Linked DNA regions of Homo sapiens: region 1 is linked to region 2. Evidence: promoter capture Hi-C in 16 types of primary human blood cells and fetal thymus (Javierre and others, 2016). All regions are on one chromosome and are shown on one strand. The core of a region is centred on a gene start or on the middle of the fragment in contact, and the rest is flanking DNA. Distances in the headings are between cores, read along the strand shown.

Region 1 (6,390 bases), core at 1,639-4,138, 170 kb after region 2:
TGTGATAGTGGATATAAAACATATTTGTAAACCTAAATCACCCTTTATAGGTAATTTTTTTAAAAAAATTCACTACTTATTTTGGCTCAAACTCTCTGAATGGAATGTGGGTTTAAGAATGAAGACTCTGATCCTATAGAACTAGATTGGGACCTCAGCTCTTCTGCTTAAACTTATGTGACTTAGGGCAGAAAACATAATCTCAGTCATTATCTTAGAGGTTGGCTATGAGGATTGAAAAAGATAATGGATCAAGAGGGCTTAGCATAATCCCTGTCACATAGCAAGCCCTTAGTAAATAACAGATGACTGACCTTTGTTGCTACTAACTAGGGGACCAACCATTTCAGTTTTCCATGGACTAAGGGTTTTCCTAGACATGAGACTTTGCATATTAAAATAAGAAAGTCACAGACAAACCAGAATGGTTGGTCACTCTATCATAAACACGCCTTTGTACTCAGCCCCTAGTGCTCCTTCCATATTTCCCAACTCACTCAGACCAGATAACCTATACCATAGTCAGCCTTAGCCAGTACAGCAGTATCTTCCAAATGATCTCAAAACCTCATCTGATAGGCCTTCATGTTGTGGTCATAATTCGACGGCATACAAAGGGATTCCATAGAAGGGAGAGAAACTGCATGGATGATTGCTACTTCTTCTCCCAAATGTTTTATTAGCTAACCACATTTCATCCTTTCTCCAAATCTACTGTCTTACCCTTCTCTGCAATCCCAAGGATTCAGGGAAATAAAAAATAACTCTCAGTGCTAAAAATGTATTCTTAGGATTTAAATTTTAATAGGATAAATAATAAATGTACTCTCTTAAACTATACAATTCAGTGGTCCTTAATATATACAGAGAGTTGTACAACCATCACTGCTGTTTAACTTCAGAAAAATTTTCATTAAAAAGAAACCTCTACCCCTCTGTCATCTCCCCCACCCCAGTACCTGGAAACCACTAGTCTACTTTTTGTCTTTATAGATTTGTCTATTATGGACAATTCATATAAATGGAATCATATAACATGTGGCCTTTTTTGTCTTCTTTCACTTGGTATAGATTTTCAAAATTCATCCATGTTGTAGGATGCATCAGTTATTTGTGCCTTTTTATGGCTGAATAATACTTCACTGTTTAGATATATCACTTTTCATTTATCCATTCATCCATTAATGGACATTGGGTTGTTTCCACTTTTGGCTAGCATGAATAATGTTGCTATGAACATTCATTTACCTTGGGTATAAACCTAGGAGTTAAATTGCTGGGGTATATGAAAACTTTAACTGAGGAACTACCAAACTGTTTTTCAAATCAGCTGCAGCATTTTACAATCCCAGTAAAAGTATATGAGAGTTCTAATTTTTCCATATCTTTACCAACACTTGTTATTGCTCATCTTTTTAATGATAACCATCCTAATAGGTGTGAAGTGGTATCATAATCATGAAAACCATGGTTATGATTTTCATTTCCCAAAAGATTTAATGATGTTATATATCTTTTCATAGGCTTCATTGAAGAAATGTCTATTCAAATCCTTTGCTCACATTTTACTCAGATTATTTACCTTTTTATTGTTAAGTTGTAAGAGTTTTTTATATATTCTGGATACTAGTTCCTTAATGGATGTTGACTTACGGATATTTTCTCTCATTATGTGGGTTTCTTTTCACTTTATTAACAGTGTCCTTTGAAGTGCAGGAGATTTTAATTTTATAAAGTACAATTTATCTATTGCTGCTTGTGTTTTTGGCATCATATCTAAGAAAACATTGCTTAATCCAAGGTCACAAATATCTCCTCTGTTTTCTTCCAAACGTTTTAAGTTTTAACCGTTACATTCAGATCTTTGACTCATGTTGAGTTAGATTTGTATATGGTGTGAGGCAGGGAATTCAACTGTATTGTTTTGTATGTAAATACACAGCTATCCCAGCACTGTTCGTTGAAAATACTTATCTTTCCTCATTTAATTGTTTTATAACCTTCATTGAAAATCAATTGACCACAAATTTAAGGATTTATTTCTGAACTTTCAATTTTATTCTATTGGTCTATATGTCTATCTTTGTGCCAATACCACACTCTCTTGATTATTGTAGATTTTCATAGTAAGCTTTGAAGTCAAGAAGTATGGGTTCTTAAAATTTGCTCATTTTCAGACTGTTTGGCTATTCTGGGTACTATCCTCAGGAAGTATTAAACGTATTGTCAAAGAATAATGCATAGATATGTTCTGCACAGTAGTTCTAAGGGTAAAATACAAAAAAAGATCTAATAACATATAATTAGTTTCTAATAATATAATACATAATTATAGCACATCTATAATTAATACTTTCTGGAAAAGAGTTAGTAAATGGAATTGTGTCACTGTCTATGGTAATGCTACAAATATCAATGCTCTAATGCCCACTAACTTTATTTGCATGAAAGCCAATATTTTCCAAACTTTCCATTTTCCAAATAGTTCTTAGCATCTCCAGACACAATAGTGGAACTCGAGGGAAGTACAGTTTTCTTACGTAAGATCTTCTTTTCCCATTGTTGTGCTGCCACTTAAATATCCTTGTCCATGATTCTCTGATGTTTACTACACCTCCACCCTACTGCTCAGCTTCTTCTTATTCCAGGTCAGTTGTGAAATCCATTTTGCTTCCCATGCCCACTATTTCAGAGGGAGTTTATGCATAAGACTGATCTGGTTCCTCAACTTTTCTACTTATCTCTGTTAGCCTGAAGTTGCTTTCTTCTAAGATTATCAAGGCATTCCAAATGTGTGGCCAGGTCATGTTCATAACAAAGTGAGGGGGACAAGCGTATCTTTACACTAACTGTACATGTGCCTCCCTCCATCCTTCAAACCCCAGCTCGGGTTCTAACTGGTACTGTGTTTCTGCATCTTGGGGAAGTCAAAGGTTGATCCACTTTAGTGCACCAAATCTCTCTGGCTTTTTGCTTATAGGCTCATCCTTTTTTAGCGCTATATGATTTAAAAAAAAAAAAACTTCACTAGACATCACCTATTAACTTTTCAAAAAATAATCATGACCTAACATTAAGTTTACAAAATGTATCAAATGATGCATATTGTATGATTAAACTTTAAAAAATGTATTTATTGTATATACTCAGAAACATAAAATATTTAAGAGAATAAATAATGAGGAAACTTTTGAAAACCTACAAATAGGCCTGATTTCAATTTAGTGCTTATTACATACCAAGCTCTGTCCTTGGTACCACATAGAAATTATCTCATTCAGTATTCGAAACAATCCTACAAAGCTGAAATTGGCATTACCTTTCATTTTATAGATGATGAAACTGACACTTAGAGAGATTTAGGGACCCAAGATATAATTGCTTATAGGGAGAAAAACCAAGAAACAAATCTAGGAATTTGACTCCCAGAGCCTACAAGTTTAAATTCCTATTATCTTATCTTATGACTAGAAACTTTTATTTGGACAGAATTTTAGGAGTTTTCAAAACAGGTTCTTATATTTATCCCAAGAATGTTTAATAAACACCTAGAAAGTTCCAGACACTCTGCTAGGTGCTGAGAAAACAAAATAAAAAATAAGATACTATTATTCTCAAGCTACTACTACAAATAATATATGGTTATAAGCTTACGACAGTTAGAAAGTACTTTCCCAAACAGGACCCCTGTAAGTACATGGAAGGCAGGGGAGAGATATTTCCTTTTACATATAAAAATGAAGTACTCCAAAGTTGATTGCCTTGCCCAATGTCAAATAGGAAGTATGTACGGAAGATGAATAATATTCCTTATAACTTCACAGTAGCTCCTATGTGGCTATTGTTAAATTTTTTAAAAATGGGCCACTTTTTGAGAGGATCACTTGAGGCCAGGGGTTTGAGACCAGCCTGGTCAACATGGTGGAACCCCGTCTCTACTAAAAATGTATATAAAAAAAAAAAGCCAGGCATGGTGGCAGGTGCCTGTAATCCCAGCTGCTCGGGAGGCTGAGGCAGAAGAATTGCTTGAACCTGGGACGTGGAGGTTGCAGTGGGCTGAGATTGCGGCATTGCACTCCAGCCTGGGTGACAGAGTGAGACCTTGTTTAAAAAAAAAAATAGGCCACTTTTGCATGAAACACGCACACAAAATTTCATTGACTATAACTTAGTATAAAATTTAGTATTTTGCTTGGTATTGTTATTACATTTCTGCTGAAGAAGACAGATATTTTTCATTTATGTTTTCTACACTCCTGAGTTTATCCTGTTCTTAACCATTATGGTCTTTGCCCCAGTAATGCGTATGCTTCTTGTATTATGGTCTTTGTCTCAATAATAAGTATTCTTGAAGTTCATAGAGCATATCCAAAGTGATCCTCAAAACAGCCTATTTCCAAAGTGATCCTCAAAAGAGCCTATCTCAGTCGGTATCCATCATTATGGTCATTTTATCAACAAGGTAATTCTGATTCAGAGAAGTGAAAAGATTTTCCCAAGGTACCTTATCAATTTATTGATTTCCTCATGCTCTACTTTTTAACATACAGGTTTACACATTCGTTAAAAGCTCTAATAATGTTTTGCCATGATTACAAATCAGAAGCATCTCCAGGGTGAAAGTGCATAATGAGGGGAGAGGAAAATCTTTGTAGCTATGGGCTATTTGTAAGCCAGGAGTTTACAAATCAAGTTCTCTCTCCATTTATCTATCTATCTATCTATCTATCTATCTATCTATCTATCTATCTATCTATCGGGTCTCACTCTGTTACCCAGGCTGGAGTTCAGTGGCATGATCTTGGCTCACTGCAACCTCAACCTGTTGGGCTCATTCTCTCTCCTTTCAAAAAATTATTATATAATATAGAGATTATAATATGCAACTAGGCCGGTCAAGAAAGATTATATTTCATTTTAATGGTTTGTAAATATTTATATCAATTTCTCTTAGAGCTTTGAATCTCACTCTCAACATTCAATACCATGGAAAATGCAGAAAGTCCCCTGCATCTTGAATATGAAGTGATTTTTCTTTGTTTTTCATGAATGAAACCATTTGAAATAAGCATCATCTCTCATTCATAAAGTAGAATTCATTATATTACCTTATTTTTTAAAGAAAAGCAATAAATCTTATCTTATGGAGAGTTCCTCTTTGACTCGAGATATATTTAATTACATACATCAGAACTGTTTGGTTCTAGAAATACAGAGCTGAATAGGAAGTAACCCCTGACATTGGGCAATTCACAGTCTAATCAGCTAACTGGACAATTCAGTCACTTACTCACTAAATACTCTTTAAGTACTTATGAGATTGGGAGACTTGTCTAGACTCAGTCTTCAGTGGTCATCAAAACAGGTTTGTGCACTCATGCACTTTACAGTCCAGTGAGGGAGCAATAAAACAAAAGATTATTAAACAATATGATAAAATGTGAGAAGGAGTAAAACAACCCATGGCATGCAGAAGCTTGCCTTAGCATTGTAACACGTTGGTCTTCTACTTACATCTGGGCCTTCATGTTCTCCATTTGAGATAAACAATTTCATAGAATGTTTACATCTGACAAACTACTCTGTGACTATGAAGAAATCAAGACTAAGATAATACCACTTAATAATCATGACTAAACACAGGCAAAACATGAACATTATCAAAGTCACAAAATACCAAATATCGACTTATCTAGACTAATGTGACTGCTGCTTCTTCACCAATTACAACTTTAGCCTTAAGCTACTCTTCCCTCCTCCTAAATAATTACTCCCACTTTCTGAGGGCATTCAAACCAAAGCAAAGCCTCTTTTCCTTAAGCCTTCCACCAAATTAACCTAACAATCTCAAATCCTACAATAAGACCTTTCTAATACCCTTCTATTGACATGCCTTATGGCTCCCAGGGGTGTGTGTTCTCACAGGCTGCAGTTAATCATAAGCCCTGTTTGTACAACTATAGGTGTGTTCCTAGTAGTCTTTGGCTGGAAGAGTATGACAAAGGCAAAACTTGAAGGCAGCAATAATACCATTCTTGTTGCTCCTTTCCTCTCTTCTCCACAGGAATTCACAGGGGCATGAAGAAAATGAAAATAGATGGTCATGAACTCTTAAATTAAGGGGTAGGAAATATTTTACTCATGTATGTATTTATTCATTGAGTCATATGTTTTCTTCCAAAAATAACTTACAGTGGCTGATCTTATTCAGTGGATTCAAAGGTACAGAGTAGAGGGCAGCTCCCTGAGAACTGTTATATAAAGACAACATCCTGGCAAAAGAAACACCCAACAATAATGAAAATGGTAGGATAAGGGCACTCCAAATGACTCTGATGTTTAACAGGATACCCCTTTTTCCCACAGCTGAGGTTCCTCCTATGCTTTTCT
Region 2 (6,895 bases), core at 515-3,014:
ATATTTAGGTGAACAGTGACTGAGAGTGTAGAGGTGAATATGAGAAGCAAGGACCAAAAATGAAACTCTGGGGAGAGAGGAAGAAGTTTAAACAGGAAGTTTAGAAACATCACCGTGAATTTAATGATGGCATATGATCGACTACCACTGTTATGTTGATTTTTTTTATTACTATTTGTTTATGCTTTCAAACTTTTGTCACTTTTGGACATGATTATTATTAGACTAATTCTGTACATTCTAGTCACAGAAGGAGGGAAAAAAAGGTGGTCAAAGAAGGAAGAAACATAGGAAGTAGAATGGAAAGAGGGAGGAAGGTCACAGCAGTACCTAAAACCATGCTATGCAATGCTTTAGTTTTAGGAACTGATCTTTATATTATCTCATATGAATGAGAAAACATACTTAAAGATCACAAATGGGTAAATTGTACAACTGTTGTTTTTAAATTTCATGACTTAAGCAATTTCCCATATATTTTGTTTTTCTAGCTATTTTGACTCCTCTTCCCATAAAGGATTCAAGAAAATTTTAAATATAGTTTTTAAGGTTTTTCAGTAGTGTCTTTGAATACTTTTAACATCTGACCTACATCTTTCTGTAAAGGACTTTAAGATGATTTCCCTCATGATATTTTCAATAGCAGTTTATGATTTGAGGTAGACGTTCTTGTTATCACTACAACCATTCTTTTTTGTTGCTGTTTCCTGAAAGAAGGTTGTGGCATCGCACTCTTTGATCTATCTTGCAATTAAATTGGCCATGAAAGATAATGTGATTCATCTAACTTTTATATGAAAAGTAAAAGGAAATATATTGCTCATTTCAAAAATTCAATTCAGGCCAGGCACAGTGGTTCACGCCTATAATCCCAGCACTTTGGAAGGCCGAGGCAGGCGGATCATGAGGTCAGGAGTTTGAGACCAGCCTGGCCAACATGGTGAAACCCCGTCTCTACTAAGAATACAAAAATTAGCCAGGCATGGTGGCAGGCACCTGTAGTCCCAGCTACTCGGGAGGCTGAGGCAGGAGAATCGCTTGAACCCGGGAGGCAGAGACTGCAGTAAGCTAAGATTGCACCACTGCACTCCAGCCTGGGCAACAGAGAAAGACTCCATCTCAAAAAAAAAAAAAAAAAAGAAAGAAAAAAAAAAAAGAAAATTAAATTCAGTAACTTTAAAAAACAAATTTTTGTTACAAATTAAAGAAAATAATTGACTTCCCTATTTATTTTGACTCAAAACTGGACAACCACTGGCATTTGACTGCTATAATGATTTAAAAATTAATAAGCTGATTCCTGCTCAGAAAATGCTTCTTCTAATGCAGTTCTAGCTACAGTGTGGAATATCTGTCTCCTTTAGGTACACCTTGGATGATCTGGACTCTAAAAATCCAAGTTACACCCAAGATTCCATTATCCTGTGGTTACTCACTTGGACCACAGACATGTAGGACCTGTCTGAAAGAAATATAAGAATCAAGTGGAAGTCAACCAGTGAATCATCCCTATAATGTAGTGAAACTTTAGAAAGAAGAGCCGGGAGGATGTATTGGTTGTTAGGAAAATGTAGGCTACCAGTAGAAAATGACATTCTCTATTAATAAGATCTGAGGTGCGACACACATAATTGTCCCAATTTTTAAGATTGATGGGGAGCATGAAGCATTTTTTTAATGTGTTGGCAGGCCCCATTAAATGCATAAACTGCATAGGACTCATGTGGTCTGAATGTATTTTAGGGCTTTCTGGGAATTGTCTTGACAGAGAACCTCAGCTGGACAAAGCAGCCTTGATCTGAGTGAGCTAACTGACACAATGAAACTGTCAGGCATGTTTCTGCTCCTCTCTCTGGCTCTTTTCTGCTTTTTAACAGGTAAGTTTTTTCTTAAAATTAAGATCCCATATTTATACTGAACTGGATATGATGAGTAGTTGTTTATCATATTTTAAATCCTAATGATTTTGATGTAAAAGACCAATTCTGAGAGATTATCATAATGATGATAATGATTGTGATGACGACAATGGTTATGGTAATAATTATTAAAATTACTGTGATTTGTTGAGCATATACTATATTCTAGGCATGTACGAAGGGATTTTATGTATTGTCTCTGAGACTCATAATAAGGTATTTCTATCTCTGTTCTTCATATAAGAAACTGTGGAACAGAGAAATTGAGAAAATCAGCAAAAGACTTGCAACTAGTAGTTAGAATCTGGAATTTGAATCAGATTCTCTTGCCATCACATTTAATGTTTGTTCCATAAAACTAGATTGGAGGATGGATAATTGCATTAAATATTGGTTTTGCTTTCCAGAACAAAGAAATATTTTCCTCCCCTTAGTTATTATTACAAAGACATTCAAATAATTAAATTAAGACAATGGGGAAATTGGAAACTCAATGAGAAAAATCTTTGAAAATATGTAATTGAAACTTAGAATGCAGAAACATATGTTTCTGGTGAGCTAAATAATCTTAGAGAAGGAGAATATCTTTGGACACTTTAGTGAGGTTCAAAGCACAATCATACTTCAAGGTTATGTTTTTTAAGACAGAACCATCGGAATGAGCAGGTCCATCATAAGCTATTTTCTTCCTTATTATTCTACTCTTTCACGTTGTAGGGCACAAAGCAAATGCTAGTTTTTAGACCTAAGACCTAGTTTCATCTCTTCTATTAATGGCCTGTGTCACTTAAAGAAATAACATAATTTTCTGAGATATTTTGTCATTTGTAAAATAATAGAAATAAAACTAAGCCCTGGGACCTTCCATATCTTATGTATCATTTTGTGTGACAGTAGCAGATGAATTTTACTACTATGCAAGATTTTAAATGGATGTACAAGTAAAAAAAAAATCAATGAGATTTAGCTGATAGAGAAGCCAGTGTTCACTGTAGCTGGTCATAATTACAAAAACAAATACACTTAGAAATACAAAAAAAATGGGTAAAGGATTCCTGTGATATTATGGAGTAAGCTTGACTACTAAAGCCAAATAACCTTAATGGGTAGTTCAATCAGTTGCTGAGATGGCAGAAAAATATATATCTGACTATGTAAAGTTTAGCTGCAAAGATAGTCTCAGAAATCAATTGTTATTTCCTTTTCTTCTCTTTACAAAGGTGAATTGATCTTTAACAGGATCTGGTTGACTAATACAGTTTACCAAAGCATGGATGCTTCACAGACATACTAGATAGTATTTGGGAGGCCATAATGCCTAAGGGCCTTAATGCTGAAACAGAGTAAAGTGAATTTTAGCCCTGGCACTTTCATTTTATAGCTTTGTGAACTCTCTGATGTTTATTTCACTTATATATAAAATAAACATATAAAGGACTATCTCTGTGTGGAGAATTAAATGAGAAAAAGGCATGTACAATGCTTAACATAGTGGATGGGGTATAGTGCATGTTTAACAAATGTCTATTAACATTATTGCCATAATAAAGTTTAATAAAAAGAGTACTAAATTGGACTCCGTCATTGTGAATATTAATCCTGTTTTTGCCTTGCCAATTCCTACGTATGAGACATTAGGCAAATCTCTCCTCTTTTGATGACAGATTTGTACAGTGGAGACTTACTGAAAATTCTAATAATAAAATATCCCTGGCTATAAAAACCACTTAGAGTCTTTAAAAAATATGGACTGTCCAGGAACTCTCTGGTTTTATATAATAGAATTTTTAAGTGATTGCCCTAAGAATTTGTCATTTTAATAATCACCCATATTGCTAGTTATAAATCAATAAGGCTGGTAATCACTGCTGAAAAAATGAACAGTAACCTTCTTTCAAATTAAAAAACAACAGCTTGTTTTCTCCTTATCTTTATTATTAGAGATTGTGCTTTAAGGAATTTCCGGTTGTTATCCCATAAGTGTTGGCCATCATTGGAGATGGATTCCGCTAACCCACACTCTCTCTCATTGCAGTGCTCTTGGGCTTATGTGTCAGAGGGATTGGGAAAGGAGTCCCATAGGAATGGCCACACATCAAAACTCAGCAGCCCATTCCAAGACTGGATTGAGGGATTTTATTATTTAAGTATTTTAAACCACTGAACTAATTAGTCACACAAACTAAAATTACACATACAATATTAAGAGAAAGGAAAAGGGAGAGAAACAAGACTATATATATGGGATCTTTTCCCTTTTTAGGAATTTAGAGAGATGTAAAAGGAGAAATAAGTCACAAGAATGAATGAGTTGTTCCTTACCAGTTTATATTTGGGCCAAGTTTTAAAAGTTGAGCAATTTCAAACTCAAAGAACAAACTACAAGCTTAATCTCTTTCCCAACTGCCTGTGGCAAAGGCTTTTGGGAGGAACTGCATGAAATGAACCTTGAAATGTCAAAGGTAGAGGATACTTTCCAATTCAACTTCTCCACAGTGAGACCAGCGATGATAAGGTCATTTTCGTAGTAAATTAGTGACTGGGCTAGGACTGTAACATGAATTTCCAGATCCTTAATCCATTTTTTTTCTACCCCACCCTAACCTCCAACAATTGTTACCTCCTCATGGTTCATGTCTTTATATGACCTTCTTAAGAAGTGAGCAGATTAAAAAAAAAAAGAAGAAGAAGAAGAAAACAAAAACAAACAAAAAAAATACGATGACTTTTTAAGATAGCCAAGTACCAGGAGTAGATATTAGGAATTTCCTAATGTTGAAAATTTCACTTTTTGTACATCAATGAATTACAGTGTTTGAATGTTGTGCTTTTCTTTCAGGTGTCTTCAGTCAGGGAGGACAGGTCAGTGCCTATTTTTATCTCTGCTTTCTGCCTGGGTGGTGCTTGGCTTGATCTTCACTGGCCAAAAAGAAATTTGTCTATGGTTAACAGAGCAAAAACAATGAGCAGGCAAACCTTATGCAGACATCAGCAGAAATTATTATTCTTTAACTAAACTCTTGTCAGTTTAAAAGAACCTAACCACACATTCTCATAATTTTTTAGGGAAGAATAAATATAAATAAAAAATAGGATGTATCTGGGATAAAATTCATGCTCTATCATTGATTTCACTGTGTGATCTTGGGGAAGTTACTCAACTTCTCTGAGCTGCAAGTTCCACAACTATAGAAAAGGGATAATATTCACTTCATAGAATTGCAATTATATTTAAATTATTTAAACAATGTGAAAGTATTTGGCAAGCCATTAAAGGCTATATATGTATTAGTTATCGATTAAAAATTAACATCCTCTGAAGAAGTTAGGATATAAGTTATTATTTCTTTTTCAGAAATAAGAACTGAAAGTAGATAAGAAACTAGTTTACTGCTCTGTAATGAGGATATACAGACTGATTCACTCAAATTTTAATAATATTTGGTTTAAAAACTGGAATGAGCACAAGTTATCTTCATCATTGGATTTTTTTTTCCTCCAAATTAGTTCACCAATGTCTTTCTATCTTTTTCATTTTAACTGTCAAAGGACAACACAAGTACTATTTGTTCTGCCAATCCTGTTCCTTTGTCCATATTAAGCATTTCTACTTGGTCTTGGCACTAGTTCTTGTTTAGCCTTGGCGTGCCTTGTTATACCTTTGACATGAAAATTTCTAGACACTACTGCTAACTAATTGGAGTTGGCAAAGCCATTGGAAATATTTTCCAACCCTGATATACCCACTGCATTATATAAGAATGTTAGTTTTTTAAATTTTAGCATCTCAGAAATTAGGATGCATCTTACAAATGATGATGCATTTGTGTGTGTGTGTGTGTGTGTGTACATGCATGTGCACTTTAGGTGTATGTCTAACACATGCACACATGTGTGTTGGCATTGTCATATGAAACTGTATACCTTCAAGTTGTATTATTATGTTTAAATAAGCATGATAGTATGGTCTATACTAAACATGAAAACAAACACACAAGGAAAGGACATAACACCCAGCCAACACATTTCGTATCTCATTAGGTAGTAAAATATAGTAAAACCATTACTCATAGAATTAAGAAATATGGAATTTAATCCTAGTTTTCTCATTAACACACACGTTACTTCCCTTCTTTGAACGTTGATTTCTCAGATTTTTTTTCTTACAAACAGAGGTTTTATTGCATTTGGTCCACAGACATATTTCACATTATCTCATGGAGCAGGGCCCCTGGGTGGGGGTCCCTGCGTAGTACTTGGCGGGGTGTGTGGCTGGGAGAGATGGCAAAGTATAGCTGCTCAGGCCCAAAAAGGGAGAAGGAAGGCTGGGGTCTCCTTAAAACCTACTGAAGGGCCGGGCACGGTGCCTCATGCCTGTAATCCCAGCACTTGGGGAGGCCGAGGTGGGCAGATCACCTGAGGCCAGGAGTTAGAGACCAGCCTGGCTAACATGGTGAAACCCCATCTCTACTAAAAATATAAAAATTAGCCAGGCGTGGTGGAGTACCTGCAGTCCCAGCTACTTGGGAGGCTGAGGCAGGAGAATCCCCTGAGCCCAGGAGGTGGAGGTGCAGTGAGCCAAGATTGTGCCACTGCAGAGTGTTTTCTAAAGTTCATTTAAATTTTACTACTTACTGATTTTATGCTTTAGATGGGCCAAAGTCTTATAGTTTGCTTGCTTCATGATTACCTGGATTGCTTACTAAATATACAGATCCCCAGGCATCATGCAAGACATTGAATAATAATCAGAAAGGTAGGGAGTTTGAGTCTGCATTTTAAATAATTATCCAGATGACATTTATACATAAGAAAACTGAGCATTTTTCCCTAGGTAAGAGGAGGCAAACTGTATTGGGAAGCATTGGCTCTGGAGTCAGATAATATAGATGAGTGGAGTCCTCATTCATACTTACTTGCTGTATGACTTGAAAAATGTGGTTTCCCTTCTCATTGCCTTTGTTTCCACATTACTA

What was found. The method cuts DNA at HindIII sites, captures the fragments that hold promoters and counts their contacts. A CHiCAGO score of 5 or more calls a contact.
Region 1: a fragment that was not itself captured here is called in contact with the fragment with the promoter of SPINK6 in region 2 in 2 of 17 cell types (monocytes and endothelial precursors); the score reaches 7.9 in monocytes.

The regions. Positions count from the first base shown.
Region 1 is chr5:148,367,124-148,373,513 of GRCh38, forward strand. The region is part of intron 2 of FBXO38-DT (FBXO38 divergent transcript); the gene reads right to left. Among named protein-coding and RNA genes, the nearest start is that of FBXO38-DT, 14 kb to the right of the region's middle. The HindIII fragment of the contact is 1,518 bases long and covers 2,130-3,647 here.
Region 2 is chr5:148,201,278-148,208,172 of GRCh38, forward strand. It overlaps SPINK6 (serine peptidase inhibitor Kazal type 6), which reads left to right and starts at 1,765. Exons shown (of 4, transcript NM_205841.4): 1 at 1,765-1,877; 2 at 4,759-4,781. The coding sequence starts at 1,820. The HindIII fragment of the contact is 4,979 bases long and covers 1-2,992 here.